Linked DNA regions of Homo sapiens: region 2 is linked to region 1. The links are contacts of gene promoters, found by promoter capture Hi-C in human tissues and cell types (Jung and others, 2019). All regions are on one chromosome and are shown on one strand. Each heading gives the region's core, a stretch centred on a gene start or on the middle of the fragment in contact. The rest is flanking DNA. Distances are from core to core; before and after follow the strand shown. Region 1 holds the start of DDX43 (DEAD-box helicase 43). Region 2 overlaps SLC17A5 (solute carrier family 17 member 5).

Region 1 (3,529 bases), core at 877-3,376:
GCTCACTGCAACCTCTGCCTCCCGGGTTCAAGCAATTATTCTGCCTCAGCCTCCCAAGTAGCTGGGACTACAGGCGCACACCACCACGCCCAGCTAATTTTTGTATTTTTAGTAGAGATGGGGTTTTACCATGTTGGCCAGGATGGTCTCGATCTCTTGACCTTGTGATCCAGCCGCCTCTGCCTCCCAAAGTGCTGGGATTACAGGCATGAGCCACCACATCCAGCCAATATTTTTTGCATTTTTATTAGAGATGGGGTTTCACCATGTTGACCAGGCTGGTCACGAGCTCCAGACCTCAAGTGATCTGCCTGCCTCACATTCCCAAGGTGCTGGGATTACAGCCATGAGCCACACCATGCCTGGCCTGGTGTCCACTGTGTTTGATGGATGATTGAACTGAAAAAAAAAAAATTTTTTTTTTTTGAGACAGGGTCTCTGCTCTGTTGCCCAGACTGGAGTGCAGTGACACCATTTCGGCACTTCGGCTCACTGTAGCCTCAACCTCCCTGGCTCAGTGATCCTCCCACCTCAGCCTCCTGAGTAGCTGGGACTACAGCCTGTACCACCACACCCGGCAGGGTCTCACTATGTTACCCAGACTGATGTTGAACCTTGGGGCTCAAGAGATCCTCCGCCTAGGCCTCCTAAAGTGTTGAGATTACAGGTATGAGTTATCCCTGCTGGCCTAAACTGAAATTTGTTCAGATAATTCAAAGATCCTAATCAAAGGAGTGCACTTGCAGCTGGCTTGAAGCCCTGGAGTAGTAGTATGTCCAGCCACAGAGCCAGGCTGCAGTGACGGTAATGCTTCAGGAATCTATTCAATTTATTTCCTTAGCTCTAAAATTATGGCAGGCCAGGCACTGTGGCTCATACCTGTAATCCCTCAACTGTGTGAGGCCAAGGCAGGAGGAGTTGGATACCAGCCCGGGCAACATAGGGAGGTCTTGTCTTTACAAAATAATTAGCCTGGCATGGTGGTGCACACCTGTAGTCCCAACTATTCGGGAGGCTGTGGTGGGAGTATCACTTGAGTCCAACAGGTCGAATCTGCAGTGAGTGATCGCACCACTGCACTCCAGCCTAGGCGACAGAGGTCAAAAACAAAACAAAAGAAAACAAACAAAAAAAACATAGCAAACATCCAGAAGACTGTGTAGAGCAATGAATGTCTCTCAAGCCAGTGATCTTTTTCTCTTCATTTTTCACATCAGGTGGGTAGTGTGCCCACTTCGTAACAAGGTTTGAGGGAGGCACATTTGACACAAGAGCATGAAAACCCAATCACACTTATGACTTACAAAAGGATCAAGTCAGTGATCTTTAAGCTGTGGGCCATTAAATACATTTTGTGAGCCGAGTGCAGTGGCTCAGGCCTGTAACCCCAGCACTATGGGAGGTGGAGGTGGGAGGATCACTTGAGTCCAGGAGTTCAAGACCAGCCTTGGGCAACATACTGGGAACTCCCATCTCTATTAAATTTTTTTTTTTTAATTTTGTGGATTACAACCATTTCAAAAACTAAAATAAGCGTAAATGTATCAAAATGCAGCTTACATAGCGAGGATAAATGCTGTTTTGTCAATCTGTTGTTTCAAGTTTTTTATGTGTGGATTGGGTCACCTTGTAACAGTGACTTACCTTTATGGGTCACGGTTGAAAACATTTCCGGTGCAGTGGCTGACTGTAATCCCAGCACTTTGGGAGGCCGAGGCTGGAAGATCACTTGAAGCCAGAAGCCAAGAGTTCAAGACCTGCCTGGGCAACACGGCGACACCCCGTCTCTATTTAAAAAGAAAAAAAAAAGTTTCCAAGGCACTGAGATGCCAGGAACCCGAGGTGTGTGTCCAGTAGGGGAGGGAGCAAATTGGGCGTTTGGAAAAAGTCCCACGCCTGGAAAGGAATACACAGTGGGGGGGTGGGGGGCGGGGCACATCGACTACTTCAAGGCACACTCCCACGGTTCAGAAAACCGATTGGCTAAAACTGGGAAAGTCCCGCCCACAACGCTCACTGGCCAATGGCTGCGTGAAATCAGTGCGAAGTGGGCGGGATAGAGAGCGTGGGCGGGGGGGCTAGCCTCGTGCGGGCTCCTTAAGTAGCGGCTGCGTGGCTTCCCTGGCACGCTACTCTTACGACGTCACGGTCAGGTGGTGCAGAGCTGGACGGCAACGACGTCGGACGCGCCCCTTCTTGGAACAATGTCCCACCACGGAGGAGCTCCCAAGGCCTCTACGTGGGTCGTTGCTAGTCGGCGAAGCTCGACAGTGTCCCGAGCGCCAGAGAGGAGGCCGGCGGAGGAGTTGAATCGAACAGGTCCTGAGGGATATAGTGTCGGCAGAGGTGGTCGCTGGAGAGGCACCTCTAGGCCCCCGGAGGCCGTGGCCGCTGGTCACGAGGAACTGCCGCTGTGTTTTGCTTTGAAGAGCCACTTTGTTGGCGCGGTAATCGGTGAGAATGGGAGTGGCTGGCAGGGCAGGATAGGTGGGGCCAGGGGCGGAGCCTGGGCGAAGGCATTTCCTCCCCACTGCCTCACCTCCAATCAGCTGCCACCTAGTGAGGTTCAGGTCTCTCCCAGAGCTATTTGTAAAACCTGGGGATAGAGTATAATTTAATCTGGCCGGGCGCGTTGGCTCACGCCTGTAATCCCAGTATTTTGGGAGGCCGAGGCGGGCGGATCACCCCAGGTCAGGAATTCGAGACCAGCTTGGCCAACATGGCAAAACCCTGTCTCTACTAAAAATATATATATTAAAAAAAATAGCTGGGCGTGGTGGCGCGCGCCTGTAATCCCAGATACTCCGGAGGCTGAGGCAGGAGAATGGCTTGAACCCGGCGGCAGAAGTTGGCAGTGAGCTGAGATCGCGCCACTGCACTCCAGCCTAGGTGACAGAGCAAGACTCCGTCTCAATTAAAAAAAAAAAAAAAAAGTAATTTAATCCACCTTTTGGTGTTTATACAGACAATGTATTTGGGAGAGCAACTCCTAGAAGACTTATGAAATCTTAGGGCTGAAGAGGGATGCTTAGAACAGGCCTTTTAACAGACAGCTAACCCCAGAATGAAAAACAAAACTTAATCAGTCTTTCTATGAGTACCATTTAGAGCCAGAAATCAAAGAAAAGCTATAAGGTCATTGTAGGGCTGCCTAGAGCAGTTGTATCTTGCTTTTAGTTTCCTTAATTTTTAAAAAGTTAAAAACTTTTCTTACTACATCTTGAGTGTTAACATTCAATTCTGAATTTTTAATTTTTTTCTTTCTTTTGATTTTTTTTTTTTTTGAGGCAGCTCTGTGGCCCCAGCTGGAGTGCAGTGTGGCGTGATCTCGGCTCACTACAACTTCCACCTCCCGGGCTCAAGCGATTCTAGCACCTCAGCCTCCCTAGTAGCTGAAATTACGTGCGCCACCACACCTGGCTAATTTTTGTGTTTTTAGTAAAGATGAGGTTTCACCATATTACCCAGGATGGTCTCGAACTCCTGTGGATCCACCCACCTCGGCCTCCCAAAGTGCTGAGATTACAGG
Region 2 (3,485 bases), core at 286-2,785, 250 kb after region 1:
GAAATTTCTCTTGATAAATTTCTTACCTCGAAGAGTATCCTCAAAGGCTGGGTTTGAATCAGAAGCCATGATTAATACTTAAAGCCATCGTAAACTAAATGCATTTAAGAATCTAGAAGCAAACTTGCAGAACCTATGACAGTTGCAGCATCTGTGACAGTTGCTCAGTAGTTATCAAGCGTAAAGGGCTCACAGTAAAAAGGGAAATCAGTGAATGTACCACCATGATTAAAAAAAAAGGATGCCGGGCACAGTGGCTCACGCCTGTAATCCCAGCACTTTGGGAAGCCGAGGCGGGCGGATCACCTGAGGTCAGGAGATCGAGACCATCCTGGCTAACTCGGTGAAACCCCGTCTCTACTAAAAATACAAAAAATTAGCCGGGCGTGGTCGCGGGCGCCTGTAGTCCCAGCTACTCGGGAGGCTGAGGCAGGAGAATGGCGTGAACCCGGGAGGCGGAGCTTGCAGCGAGAGGAGATCGCGCCACTGCACTCCAGCCTGGGCGACAGAGACAGAGACTCCGTCTCAAAAAAAAAAAAAAAAAAAAAAAGAATGCAGAGTAGGTTGGAGGAACCAATAAAAGGATCATGTGAGAGGAGGAGTTTGACCTATTTATTACTCTAACTGTGGGCTTATGCATAGTTTCTCTTTTTTCTTCTTTTATTGAGTTGCAGAATTGGAGAGGGATAGGATTCAGGATGCTGACTAAGGATAATCAACCTCTTAGTAACAAAGAGAAATTAGCTAATCCAGAGTCTGAACATCTTTAAGTTTAGTAAACTCTGAGTGGCTGATAAATACCTCTTTAAAGATATAAACATGTATTTCATTAAGCAATGACATATTAAAATTAAATGAAAATATGTGTGCTTTTATTTGGTAATGACACATCAACATCATATAAATGTGTGTATGTTTTTCCCCTACTTAAGAATCCTGGTGTTTTCATTAACCTAGCATCAAAGGAGAGAATATATTTTACAGAATACAAAAGTCTTGATACTGGCTCAGATGAACTGATTTAGACTGAAACATTAATGAATATGCACAACTATACTTAGGTTTATATTAATATATTATGATCCAACTCACTTTTCTGTATGCCCTCCTATGTTTAACAACTGCTATTATTTTTTTTTCCCTGTGTAAGATTAACTTCTTTTAACAGGAAACTTTTCATTTGGCATTCTTAAATCCTTTCTTCAGGGGTACAGCTATGAAATTTATGGTACCACTACCATAGTTAGATCCAGATCTGTAAGAACTGAATTTCTAAAGTTCTATTCACATTGTCTCTATTACTAGAATCTAGGCGAATTTGCTTTCTGCTGCAACCAAATGGGCAGTTGTCCAGTTAATGACGGTTTGGATATTGTGAGGCATGTTTTGTAAAAAAACACATTTTCTTTTTTCTTTCTTTTTTTTTTTAGAGACAGGGTCTTGCTCTGTTGCCCAAGCTGGAGTACAGTGGGTGATCATAACTTTCTGTAACCTCGAACCCCTGGACTCAAGTGATCCTCTCACCTCAGCCTCTTGAGTAGCTGGGACTAAAGGCATATGGCAGCATATCTGACTAATTTTTAAATTTTTACTTGTAGAGTCGGGGTCTCACTATTTTGCCCAGGCTGGTCTTGAACTTTTGGCCTCAAGCAATCCTCCCATCTCAGCCTCCCAAAGCACTGGAATTATAGACGTGAGCCACTGTGCCCAGCAGAACATGTTTTCTTTATCATTGCTCTGTGTCAGGTGATATTACCTAGAAGTCTGGATGGGGGACTCAAAAATCTAGCTAAATGTGTGCATTAAAATGTGTTACTTTGAGCAATTTGGAGCAAGAAAAACCCAGATTTATGTACTATGTCTGTTTTGTCAATGCAGCATTTAAAAAGATCATTACCTATTTCAGCAAAGGAGTGATGAGATGTGATTTATGGTTTAAAAAGCTTATCTGGTTGATGGTTTAAAGAGCTCATCTGGACCCTGCATGGAGACTATAGAAAGGAGAAGTGTGAAGGGTGTAAGGAATGTACAGTCAGGGAGATCACTTAAAGGACTACTGTAGCTTTCCAGCTAAGAGATGAAGGTGGCTTAAACTACAGTGAAAGCAGCAGTGAAGAAAAATGGGCAGATCTGAGATGTTTAAAGGCAGAATTAACAGGCCTTGCCCAAATGTTAGATGTGGGAGTAAGTGAAGGGGAGGGATGAAGTTATTAGTAATTCTCTTACTCTAAAAAACTCTATTTTATGCTACTGTAATTTGTAATGTTATTACTTCATTCTATCCTTATTTGCAGTTATCTTATTTTACTGTACATTATTAGTTTTCCCTAAGTGATGCTTTATTGGGACTATGATATACCTTATCATGTGAATTACAAGGGGCTAGAATGTTGAGAAATGAAAGAAAGGTAAGTAAAATGATTTCAAATTACTCGTGGTATTACTTGGAAATCTGACCTACAAGTTATAGATCAGGCAACTTTAACTTTTGGATGCATAGTCAGTAATTAGAAAATAAAAAGCGGCCAGGCACGGTGGCTCACGCCTGTAATCCCAGCACTTTGGGAGGACGAAGCGGGTGGATCACCTGAGGTCAGGAGTTTGTAGACCAGCCTGGCCAACAAGGTGAAACCCCGTCTCTACTAAAAATACAAAAATTAGCCGGGCGTGGTGGCAGGCACTTGTAATCCCAGCTACTCGGGAGGTTGAGGCAGGAGACTCGCTTGAACCTGGGAGGTGGAGGTTGCAGTGAGCCGAGATCACGCCATCGCACTCCAGCCTGGGGGACAAGAGCGAGACTTCGTCTCAAAAAAAAAAGAAAATAAAAAGCCAACTCAGGTGTCACAAAGTATATTACTATGAGATTCTAAGAAATATTAAAAATAAACAATTACTAGCTAATAAAATGGTTGCTGATTACAAATATATTCAATCAGAAAATTTTTATTTCAAGAAGGTATAGCAGTAAAGAAAAACATGCCTGGGAATGTGAATATTCTTTGAAATTGATCCAACAAAAGCATGCTTGCATGACCAAGAGAGAGAACATCCATTGAGCATCAAGTTCAAAGCAAAATCATGCTTGCATAAGGAACATGGCACCCATCAAAAACAAACATCAGCTTCTAAAATGTGTTTTAAACTTAGGAATGTGTGTGGGTGTAACTGAAAGTACACAGGCTAATTTAGAGTGGGACCTGGGAATGAATCTGTTTCTGATTTTTCACTGGCTGTGTGCTTTTGTAGAAATTACTTACTAGTTTTCATTCTCAGGTTTCTTAGCTATAATATGTAGAGACCACCATCTACCCACTGGGCTGCATGGGGATTAAATGAAATACTGCAAGACATTATAGCAGGCACTTAGTAAAAAGGATTTCTTCCTCCTTTTTATCTGGAGAAAGTTATGCCAATAAGACAAAGTACTATGTACGTATATATAAAAAGGAACAAAAGAGGCACATTAATCTGATGGAGGGGACAGT

The links. The method cuts DNA at HindIII sites, captures the fragments that hold promoters and counts their contacts. A contact is called where the count stands out against the background at its distance.
Region 2: a contact is called between a fragment that was not itself captured here and the fragment with the promoter of DDX43 in region 1, in 1 of the 25 tissues and cell types used here (aorta).

What each region holds. Positions count from the first base shown.
Region 1 is chr6:73,392,702-73,396,230 of GRCh38, forward strand. It overlaps DDX43 (DEAD-box helicase 43), which reads left to right and starts at 2,127. Exons shown (of 17, transcript NM_018665.3): 1 at 2,127-2,454. The coding sequence starts at 2,205. It overlaps LOC124901538 (small nucleolar RNA U13), which reads right to left and starts at 1,312; the gene lies at 1,212-1,312. It also overlaps a transcript of OOEP not described here. RefSeq lists an enhancer at 1,744-2,244. The HindIII fragment of the contact is 17,001 bases long and covers 1-3,529 here.
Region 2 is chr6:73,645,263-73,648,747 of GRCh38, forward strand. The region is part of intron 1 of SLC17A5 (solute carrier family 17 member 5); the gene reads right to left. Among named protein-coding and RNA genes, the nearest start is that of SLC17A5, 7.0 kb to the right of the region's middle. The HindIII fragment of the contact is 4,203 bases long and covers 1-3,485 here.